Regions from separate parts of the Homo sapiens genome. Here all the other regions are linked to region 2. Evidence: promoter capture Hi-C in 16 types of primary human blood cells and fetal thymus (Javierre and others, 2016). All regions are on one chromosome and are shown on one strand. The core of a region is centred on a gene start or on the middle of the fragment in contact, and the rest is flanking DNA. Distances in the headings are between cores, read along the strand shown.

Region 1 (2,700 bases), core at 129-2,628, about 23 Mb before region 2:
CAAATGTAGCAATAAATTCAAAAGTACCGGGAGGCAAATCCATTCACTAAACCCTGATTTAAATCGGTACTTTTAACAGAAGAAAAGGTAAATTTTTAGAATGCACAATTTTGTTTTGAAATGTAAAATTCCAGGTATCATCTGACTGCTCTATACAGCTTGCTAAGGAAGCTAGTATACCATTAAAGATGAGCTAGTATACTGTTAAAGATTAGAGACTCCACCTAAGAGCTAAATTTACAAGATTCAAGACAAGAAGAACAAAAGCAAGACACAAACACATAATATCCTCACAACACTAACAAAAGCTTCATTTGTTAGAAGCAACAGCTATTTCGGCTGTCCTATTTCTTTTACACAAGTTGACCACAGGCAGTCTTAACTAAGATGTTGCTCATCTGAAGAACTCAAAATAGTGGTCAAAAAAGTGTGAGATAAGGCAGAGAATACTGGATTCTAGTCCCAACTTCTGACAGACTTTTCTGGCACTGGTTCCTTTTCCAGAAAAGTAGATTTAAAATAGATAAATTCTAGGGTCCTTTCCAATCCACCCCACCGCACAAAGCATACTGGTTTGGGGTCATTAGTGGTGTTAGAATGCTGATCATTCTTAGATAGCAAAAATCTGAATAACAACACATTTATAAGCAACTGAGGAAAACAGGAAACCCAATTCCTTCCGATACCGGTTTTATTTGGAAAACTTTACTGGTTTTGTTTTGTTTTTGACAATTCCTTCAAAAGAAGGAGGTTTTGTTTTGTTTTGTTTGACGAGTCCTTCAAAAGAAGTGGAGGGGGGGCAAAATCCTGAAATGAACATTGCTGCTACAATGCTTGGTTTTCCGAACTGTAGATATTGCAACTTTCAAGGTACAGAACCGAATAAATGGCCTAAAAACAAAGGTTGGACTTGGAGTTTTTCAAAGCAAATGAGGCAGAATTACGGATGCCACAGCTCAGGCAAGGGGTCCGAAGGGACCCCCATTTGAAATGCTCTCTTTAGTTCTTACTATGAAAGTGAGTCCCTGAAGCCTCCAAACGCAACGAAATGTCTCTGGAGCTCAGAAAGACTGGACAAGCCCGAGACAGGCCCGCAGACTTACCCGACCCAGACCAACCGGCTCCTACCCAGCAAGAGCCGCTCGCCCCCCACCCCGTTTATGGAGACCCAGTGAGGCCTTAGGACTCTGGGAAACCATTCCCTAGTCCACTGGACCCTCCTTCCTTCTGCAAGGCTCGTGCCTCACTTGATATTCTTGTCTATAGTCCCCTCAGCCTCCAAAAAGAAGACCTCCGCCTGCCAAAGACCCTCTTTTACCTTCTTCAGCTCTAGATCCACGGGGGCGGCCATCTTGGTGCACTGTAAGCGCCTGCGCAGTGGGAGTTGGACTGAAATAGGGTGGGGAAGGGCGCGTCTTACTTTGTGCGCCGGTCTTTCTTCTGCGCCTGCGCATGAGTTGGACTAACCGGGCTTCTTATCTTTCTCTGAGAATTGACTCCTGAAATATTTGGGTTTCGGATTCCGTGTCTTCACTACCTGACCGGTCAGGTCTGGCTTGCTCCTCCGTATCTTCCAGACATAGCCCAACGCGCAGATTTCCCATGTGGCTTTAAGCAGTTTGCCAGCTAGCTTAATATGTGCTGCTAAATTGAGATGTATGTAGATGAGGTCAAACCCTCATCAGTCGATCAGTCCTTCAGCTAGTCGCTGTGCTCTCAGGAATGAGTAAGAGTAAGTCCAGAACCTCAGGCATGACAGTTTGGGAAAGACTATTGGAAAGCTTGTCTGGAGTGTTCTTTCCAAAACGAACTTATTACTTCCAAAAGCTTCCCAAAGACATTCTAGGCACAGTGGTTCTCAAGAGAGGCTGAATACGTTTGTTTAAAAACAAAAAAATGCAGGTTCTCTGGGTCTCATCTCAAACGTACTCAGAATCTTTGAGAATGGGGTCTGGAAATTTGCACTTTTGCAGACTACCCCAGTGACCTAATGGTGCAACTCCTCCGCGGATCACTTTTTTGAGAATCTCTGCCATAAAAGGACCTGGCATTTGAACCAGAATAGATAATAATTGACTTTTGGAAATGGAAAAAAAAGTTAACCTACTCTAAAAACTGTTATGCTAAGAGAAAGTGCTACATAAATAATTAGGAAATTTATTTTATTTTTTAAAAAAAGAAAGAAAGAGAGAAAGAAAACAAACTGTTAGGGAGATGAAAGGGCAGGGAATTTGGAACCAGCCTAATCTAGATTCAAGGCTTGGTCTGCCTTTAGCCTATGTCTGGTTCCATTTACTAATTGTGTGACTTTAAGCAAGTCACTTGGATATTTTGTGGGGTTTTTTTTTTTTTTTGTACGTTTGTTTGTTTCTTGAGACAGGATCTTGCTCTGTCACCCAGGCTCGAGTGCAATGGTGCAATCACGACTCACTCCAGCCTCTACCTCCCGCGCTCAAGCGATCCTCCCACCTCAGCCTCGTGAGTAGCGCTGGGACTACAGGCGCGCGCCACCCACACTCAGCTAATTTTTATATTTTTGTACAGACGGGTTTTCACCTTGTTGCCCAAGCTGGTCTCAAACTCCTGAGCTCAAACAATCCGCTCGCCTTGGTCGCCCAAAGTGCTGTAGTGCTTTGATATTAAAGGCTTGAGCCACCGCACCCGGCCACATTTTTTTTTTTTTTTTTTTTTTGAGCCAGG
Region 2 (2,700 bases), core at 43-2,542:
TTAAAAAAAAAAAAAATCGGAACATAAGAAACCTCAGGCTGTCTTCGATTACTGTTCTAGAGAAACTTTATGTTTACACGAATAAGGAAATGAGTTTTTGTTGGGGGTTGAGGAGGAAGGAAAGTCATGGTGTTCTGACGTGGAAAACTTCTTTAAAAGGCTGCTTAGTCTTTAGTTTGAAAATAAACCAAAAAGGTTTAGGAGTCGGGGAAAGGCCCTAGGAAAATCCAGACAGTGGTCACGTTTGTGGACGACGTTTAGAGCTTGCTATCCTGGGCACACAAGAACCCTTGGACTGTTCGGTGCAAAGTTGGCAAATCCTACACGGCCTGTGCCAGGGTTTACTTTCTGCATCAATTTCACAGGCGTCCAGCCTGGCTGAGGATTTTTTGCGGTTTTTAACTGGAAGGGAAATAAGTCGGCATCAGCACTTAGGGCTGCTTAACTTTTAAAAGGTGGTAGAACGCCCAGCCTTACACGCTGCTGCTTAAATTCTCGGTGCTCACCAAGGCTGGGCTCGTGTGGCCCAATCCTGCAATCCCCGAGGCGGTGTTTCTTAAAGAGTGGGCTTGATTCTGGTTAAACCCATTAAGAAGTCGGACCCCGGGCTCGTTTCTTGTTCTGTAATTATGGGTAAAGTCCAAGGATCTGCGTTTTGAAGAGGTACCTAAGTAGTTCATCTTCCTTCCCCCTACAACTTTTTATTTTTAATTAGTTAAAAATAGTTTTACATTTTTGATATCTCACACACAGGTTTTTTCTTTTTTTAAGCATCCCAGGAAGACAAATGGCTCAGACGCCAACCCTTTTATTTTTATTCCTTGTCTTTTTCTAAATCTTTCAAAACCCCCACCTAGAGCTCTAGAGATGTGTCCATTATGCTCTACCCACCTCCGCCCCCGCCCCCATGACTTTAAAATGCTTTTTATTCCACTTTTTATATTGCTCAGTCGATCCTCATGCACTGCGCAGTCTGCAAACTTGAAACTCAAGGCGATCCACTTCAATCTTTTCCCGAGTCAAGAAAAAAAGGAAAAAAAGTAGAATAAAAAGCACTCAAATAAAATCTCCGAAACAAAACCTGAATTCACTGCCTAAGGTCAGGGCCTTTCTTTTGTGTGTCGCTTTAAGCATCGGCGCGTGGGCTGGGGGCAGACCGCGCGTACCCGCCCTCTTTCTGGGGCGTCGGCGGAGCGTGGCCAATCAACGGGCGCGGCTATGGCAGCGGAAGCCGGAAGCGGCGAGCGGGGTCGTTCTGGGCCTAGGGGAGGCGGGCCGAGGGCGTCTGAGCTGAGGCCCGCGTCGATCCTGGGTTGGAGGAGGTGGCGGCCGCTGAGGCTGCGGCGTGAAGACGGCGGGCATGGTGGGGCGGGAGAAAGAGCTCTCTATACACTTTGTTCCCGGGAGCTGTCGGCTGGTGGAGGTGAGGGAGTCGGCCTGGGCGTCTCCGGTGGGAGCGGGGGCGCCGAGGGGGACGAGCCACCGGGGCTCGGGCGGCTTTGCAGGCGTATTCCGCCCGGGTCAGAGCCTCCGGCCGGGAGTGGTCTCACCGCCACCCTCCCAGCCCCGGATCCGAGGGGGGCGCCACCGAGTTTGTTTATCTCAGCGCACACGGGTCAGTGTTTTTTTCTTCCAGCCACTGCGGCAGGAAGCAAGTAGGTGGAGGTTTTACTTTCGAGTTCTGTCTCTGCTCCTGAGGACGAAGAGGTTTTTCAGAATTGTTTGTTTTGATTTTGGTTTTCCCCGTTTATTCATCTTTGGTTCGTATTTCTCGATCTTACAAGTTCGTAGGTTTGAGAAAGAACAGGAAAAGGTGACTTCTCACAAATAACAGTGCTGGAGATGACAACTTATTGAACTCTTAAGTTCTCAGCACTATGTTATGCACTTGACGGGCATTACTTTAATCCTCCACTGTGAGATACTTGTTATTGCCTCATTTTGTAGACGAGAAAACGGGCATAGAGGGTGAGACATTGGCCCAGGTTCATTCCGTAAGGTTGGAGCCTGGAATTCAGATACAGGTTTGTGTGACTGTCTTGGGCTTTGAACCACTACGGAGTTTCCCTGAAGGAAGATTATGGTGATGATTGGAAGATCCATCTCTGGTGCCCCCCTCGCCCCCGTCCCATCCTGCTCCATTCCACTTAAGGGCCTCCAGCATTAATCTGTCCACAGAACATATCCAACCCTGGGGATAAGAACACTACTAATGCCCAGACCATGTCTTTTGGAGAGAGTAGAGAATATAGGAGATGGCTGTTTCTGTTATTGCAAAGTTTTCATGCTTCCAAATTTACTTAGGGTTTTCAAATCACTTTGGTTCTTTGAGGGTAAAGTTAGGATAAATGGTCTATTAAACCTCTATGTTCCTAGGTCCTCCAGACCGTGCTGAGTGCATGTTACATACGTTTACATTTATATGTATGCATTTGTATGTGTACGTGTGCATATAAAGCTTAATCTACTTTCACAAAAAGAAGTTCAGTATAAAAATGAAAATAGCTTTTCGTGTTTTCCTTCATTAAAAATGAAACAACGAAGAGCTTGGCACAGACTTACTGCTCTCAAAACCTGTAGAATTAAAGCTTACTGACTCATGAGAACGAGAACTGTCTCATAGTTAACGTTAGAGAAGCATCCTGGAGTGGTTGTTGTTAGTAATACTGTCTGTGGAGCACAGTAGCGTCGCAGTAGAAG
Region 3 (2,700 bases), core at 196-2,695, about 40 Mb before region 2:
AATGAATGTCATATATGTCAAAGAACCTATATTTTCCATATTATTATAACTAGCAGCTTCCAACAAGCTTGAGAACAGAGGATGTGAAGGGAACAAACAGATGCCTGCCTTGCTGCAGACAATGATACAGAGATAACAGAAATGGTCTTTTTCATCCTTGGAATCTAGTACATAGCCCAAATTTTGTTCATGGTAAAAGCTTAACCATTTTCTTTTAAATAAAGGGCATTTCTAAAAGTGTAGTCAAGAAATTGCAAGTTAACTCTTAAGGACTGTAGTCCCCCGAGTCCTCCACCAAGCCAAAGGGATGAGAATACATGAGGGGAAATGAGACTGAAAAGGTAGGCAAGAGGTCTACCACAAAGGGCCATGTATGCCATTCTAAGAAATACAGACATTATCCTTTAGGACACTGAAGGACTTTAAGAAAATCAGATTTGCATTTCAGAAAGATCATCCCCAGGGAGTAAAGGAGGAAGTCTAGATGTTTCTGGAAAGGAAGAAAACATTGAAGAATCAGACTACTGAAAAGATTATTACAGTAAGTTAGGTGGATAATGAGGGCCCCTTACCAAGGCACTCACAATGTAAACTCATTCATTCAAAAACTCGTATGTAGAATCTATTATTATTCAGAAAATAAAATCAATTATACTTGATGACCATTTGGAAGTTAGAAATGGAGAGTGAATCCAGGCTGAGGATGACTCCTTGGTTCTTGGCTTAAGGCAACAGCATGGTTATGATGAATGGAAATACAGTACGAACAAGAGAGAAGAATAGTTTGGAGGGAGGACCACATGCTAGTTTTGGGTATGTTTGTGGAAACAACCTAACAGACATCCTTGACTCCAGGTTCTCTTCCTTGCACACTGCTACTAAACTGAACTCAAGAAAAGCATTCTATTTAGGAATATATGCTGCCAACCTATTTCTTGGAACATTAATTCTAAACTGGCTTTCAAGATCCTCTGAGGCCTATTCGCTCCAGTTGTACAAGCTCATTTCTTACCATGACATTTCTAAATATTCACCTTCCTCTACCCTGGTCATCTTGCTGATCTTTTCAATGTTCCACCCACCATGCTCACCCCGGCACAAGCTACTTGGTTGGGAATCAAGCTGGTCAGAAAGACCTTGACTGCTAACCTTTTGAGTTTAAGCCTGAGGCTCTCACTTGAAACTCTGTATTAGGAATATTAACACACATCGCACAGCTCTCCCAATTAGCACTAACAGGCCTCTCTCAGGACCTCATTTTCTGCTGCTCTAAAACTAGCTTCCCCAAATGAATTGCATTTATGTCCTGGGTTGTCAGACTGGCCTGGGTTGTCCATAGAATTCTATTGTCACATATCTAAAGCTCACTTATTATTTAAAGAACTTCAGCCATCCCACCCACCCTACCCTCAAACCTATATTTACAGTACATATCACATATTTTAAATATTATACCCCAACATATTGTGTCCTGTGATCTCCCCACGTGGACAGACCTCTACATCCTTGGAGGGAATGGAGGTATTTGTTTCCTCATAGCATGGTCAGTTATAAGTCTAAAAACTGTTGTTAACCAAATTTTAAGGTTATTTCAGTCCTATGTTTTTAAACAATAAGTAAACTAACAGTTAATAGTGCTCCAAATCTTTATGGCTTTTCTGGTCAGTCTCTTGTTCCAAAATTCAAAGATTAGGATTACAATGTTTCCTTTGCTCTCATCCCTCACACAGTGCCAGGCCTTTATAAAACACTCTCCCATGGGGGAAAAAATGCAGCCAGGCTTCTGCTCTGGCTCAAGATGACTCCTTCTTAACATACTATTCGTAAAGTGTCCTCAATTCACCTGTTATCTCCTATGCCCTCCACTTTCTTGCAAATCTGTTCTCCAACCACACTGAATTTAACCAATGTTTACTGAGTGAATTTAATTAAGCAAGGCAAAACGTGTCTTGCTTTTCCATACTTTAAGTGCTCCCTGCTCTTCTCTTTGCCTGGAATGCCCTTCCTTTTTTCACCTGACAAATTCCTAATCATCTGTAGGACCCCAAAAAATGCCACCTCCTCTAGTGAAACTTCCGCAGTTTCCTTAGACAGAGGTGGTCATTCATTAGGGTCTTCCACATCCTGATGAATTATTTGCTGACACACTCTCCTTGCTACATCCTTAGCTTTTTAGAATCAGGACTGTTTCATTCTTACATTCCCAGCACAGTGTCTGACACTCAATGAGTCCCAATAAACCAATGTCATTCATCCAAAACACACCTTTTAAGGAATGTATAATACACCCTCTTAAGAACTGTAGTCCCCTGAGTCCTCCAGCAAGACGTGTAAAGGGAATTGCCTCCGGAACACTTCTGGAATCGCAGGAAGCCTGTATTCAAGTCAAAGCTCTTACAAGTGCTATTATTGGGAACCGCTGATCAGAACGCGCTTCTCAGGACCACGTTCAGCTCATATATAAAAGCCATCGACGTGCTGCTTTGGATGAAAATCGTTTTCTCTAGATTCTCTGGGGCTACGGCTAGTCACGCTAAATATCACTTATCCCTAATAGCGCTCATATCCCTGGAGAGATTTTTAAATCAATTGCCTAACAGACCTCACTACGTACAACTTTGAACAAGTCTGTGGGGACCACAAAAGCACAGATGACAGGGTTCTTAAGGTTAACAAGGCCTCGGTCCCACACTAAGCTTT
Region 4 (2,729 bases), core at 181-2,680, about 60 Mb before region 2:
ATAATTGGTATTCATATACAAAAGTAACGTAAATGAAAGTTGTTTTTTTTTTTTCAAAGCCCATACATATGAGAAAATGGCTTGAAACTGTAATATTCGAGACAAATATAAATATCTTCTTATACTCTGATTGCTAAGTAAAGGTATCATTTACAAGGGGGATTAAGTGGTTTCTACTACATAAAGAAAGACTGTCCTGGGACTTCTTTGGATATGCTCATATTTTCAAGAATTTCTCTTAAAATCATTACTTAATGTACTTAAACATGTAGGAATAAGAAAAAATGAAAGTGATTGATTACAACTTGTAGTTTTGCAAGAGGAATGTCAGGGTCACATTTGGTTAAGCTTTATACACTTTGTCCCCTCCATAAAAGCAAATAAAATCAACTCATTGCTTAATTCCTTTAATAATTTTGTGTTCAATAAAGTAAGGCAGTTAGGTATTATGTCAAGATTAGGACTTAACTGTTTCACCAAGGGTTAAAAACAAAGCCACCAATTTAAGCCCCTAAAAGGTTATAATACCCGCTGGTTCCATCTTAAAATCTGCAATTTTCAATCAACATGTTAACTTGGATCGGAATTCTGACATTTGAATTATTCTATTTTAAGCTCCAAAAAATGGACACGCACAATTTTATGCAACGTCAAGGACCTGTAAATTTAAATACACTTCTCTGTAATCTGGTTCACTTCAGAGTACAAATTCATTGAACAAAAAAATGCCTTCATCGCCATATGCATTCACATGAAGCCACATGGGATAAATGCATTTCCACTTTAAAAAGTATCTACTTTGGTTCAGAAATGCCCATTTAAGAAAAACCTACACTGAGATAAAGTGGACATTTTTCTTTTAAAACTACGTGACAGGATTCCCTCTTGACCTCACGTTTCTCCCCGCCACGTATTTAAATTTGGGGCAAAATTTCTGATTAAATGACTGATCAAAGTAATGGGGAGAATTCTTCAACGCCGGCCAAAAGTGCTTAGTCTCAAACGCTGTGAGGGAGCATTTCCTAAGCTTTGGGCGACTCGTTAACGGAATCTTAAGGGCAAGGTCCAACCACACTCAGAATCAGCAGGAAAATGACCGTTTGGTAAAACTCAATTACACCCAGTAGGCACCTCCCCAGGCCCGAAACAGCACTCGCCCTTTCTGCTCAGCTAGCGCGGGACATCGCAACGCCCAAGGCCCTCCTATCTCAAAGGCGCTTGCGCAAAATCTCCCCACAGACTCAATTAAACCCTTCCTTAGGCCGGTCGAGGCGAATGGTTTTGAAATTACTGTCGGGTTACGCCTCACTTTAAAAAACAGTAGGTATGACACAGCACACCAGAACGACCACTCACCGAGGTGGTCCTAAATTCAAACGACAGATTTAAGCTTCCTCTCGTGATTTATCTCGCGCTGCCGGAAGCGGAACTACCCGGGTCCTTTAGAGGGCAGTCCTTTGGGGAACCTTGGAACCACGGTCAGAAAGGTTAGGACTGATCATTTGGCTCTTGCCGGAAATCGTTCCGCCCGGTGAGGTTTCGGCGTGAGACCCGAGGAGGGCGGGGAAGAGGCGTGACGGAGATTCCTGAGGTGTAGTAGCCTGAGGTTCCCTTATGTGGCCCTATAGCTGTTACTGAAGGAAGTAGCCTACGTCCACGCCTACAACTGAAGTCTCTTGACAAACACCTCACCCCTGCCTCCGGGATGAAAGGGGGTAACCTAGACCTGAATGGGCTTGACCATCTCACAACTGCTCGCGTGACGACCGCATTCGTGGCAGGTGAGGGCCCAAAACCGGAGGAGAACCGGAGATGCGGAACCTGATCATGCCAGGGTTGAGGCGGCTGCTGGGCTTCTGCTTTGTCTCCTGTGCTCTGCAGACCCTAAACACATGCTCCACCGAGGGGCTTGTGCTGGAGAGAATGACAGCCTGGGCGTGGAGTGACAGTACAGCTTTGAGGGTCCTTTCGCGCCTTGATTTCTCCTCCTGCTCCCCCATGGCTTCCCTTTTTCATTTCTTGGGTTCGAGACGCCAGAAATTGAAGATCAGCTAAAAGGGAACCGCTGAGCTTCTACCCCACGCTGTGCCTGGCTCCACTGAAGTGATTAGCCTCGAGTTATGGGACTGCTGTGGGTAGAGGTGGCTTTTTAAAAAATTTTCTGCCTTAGTCTTTATCCCTCTCTCTGTCAACCCCACACCCACTTTAAAATAACAAAAGCCTCATGTGTTGCAGCTTTTCATAGTAGGGACCGAGGCTGCAGGGCACTGCCGCACCTAGTCATTTGGAGGTCGTTGCAGCCTTCTGCGCCTTGAAGAAGAAGGGGCCAGGGTGATGATCCCTGGATCTCATTCACGAGGTTCTTGACCACTTCCTGGGAGATTGCGACTCTTGGTGTCCTTTGGCTAGTAGTTGTCTTGCTGGAAGGCTTAACTGTGGAAGTGGGAAGCATAGCTGACCTTAGCACGTAAAATCCTCGCTCTACACTGGGACAGGATTTTGTTTTGCTATTGAGAATTCTTAAATGAAATAGATAATTTTTTTGTCTCAGATAGATAAAATAATAACGATAGTTGCCATTAACTGAGTCTTATGTGTGCCGAGTGCTTTACATAGTTTGTCATTTATTCCTCTCAACAATTCCAGGAGGTATGTTAGATTATTATCACCATTTTACAGAGTTAGAAATGGAGGCTTTGAACAGTCAAGCAACTTGCTCTATTAAACAT

What was found. The method cuts DNA at HindIII sites, captures the fragments that hold promoters and counts their contacts. A CHiCAGO score of 5 or more calls a contact.
Region 1: the fragment with the promoter of PFDN1 here is called in contact with the fragment with the promoter of MAT2B in region 2 in 1 of 17 cell types (fetal thymus); the score reaches 5.9 in fetal thymus.
Region 3: a fragment that was not itself captured here is called in contact with the fragment with the promoter of MAT2B in region 2 in 1 of 17 cell types (total CD4 T cells); the score reaches 8.0 in total CD4 T cells.
Region 4: a contact is called between the fragment with the promoter of GIN1 here and the fragment with the promoter of MAT2B in region 2, in 1 of 17 cell types (total CD4 T cells). The highest score is 5.5, in total CD4 T cells.

What each region holds. Positions count from the first base shown.
Region 1 is chr5:140,301,723-140,304,422 of GRCh38, forward strand. PFDN1 (prefoldin subunit 1) reads right to left here and starts at 1,379. Exons shown (of 4, transcript NM_002622.5): 1 at 1,319-1,379. The coding sequence starts at 1,351. RefSeq lists an enhancer at 1,116-1,395 and a silencer at 1,284-1,488. The HindIII fragment of the contact is 1,473 bases long and covers 307-1,779 here.
Region 2 is chr5:163,504,327-163,507,026 of GRCh38, forward strand. It overlaps MAT2B (methionine adenosyltransferase 2 non-catalytic beta subunit), which reads left to right and starts at 1,293. Exons shown (of 7, transcript NM_013283.5): 1 at 1,293-1,423. The coding sequence starts at 1,361. RefSeq lists enhancers at 1,026-1,832, 1,050-1,139, 1,180-1,299 and a silencer at 1,470-1,609. The HindIII fragment of the contact is 7,455 bases long and covers 1-2,456 here.
Region 3 is chr5:123,420,202-123,422,901 of GRCh38, forward strand. All of the region lies in intron 1 of CEP120 (centrosomal protein 120), which reads right to left. Among named protein-coding and RNA genes, the nearest start is that of CEP120, 1.9 kb to the right of the region's middle. RefSeq lists an enhancer at 2,468-2,700. The HindIII fragment of the contact is 2,497 bases long and covers 198-2,694 here.
Region 4 is chr5:103,118,708-103,121,436 of GRCh38, forward strand. It overlaps GIN1 (gypsy retrotransposon integrase 1), which reads right to left and starts at 1,431. Exons shown (of 8, transcript NM_017676.2): 1 at 1,357-1,431. It overlaps PPIP5K2 (diphosphoinositol pentakisphosphate kinase 2), which reads left to right and starts at 1,594. Exons shown (of 31, transcript NM_001276277.3): 1 at 1,594-1,781. RefSeq lists enhancers at 567-1,068, 1,069-1,569, 1,405-1,664, 1,695-1,884, 1,935-1,994. The HindIII fragment of the contact is 9,897 bases long and covers 1,389-2,729 here.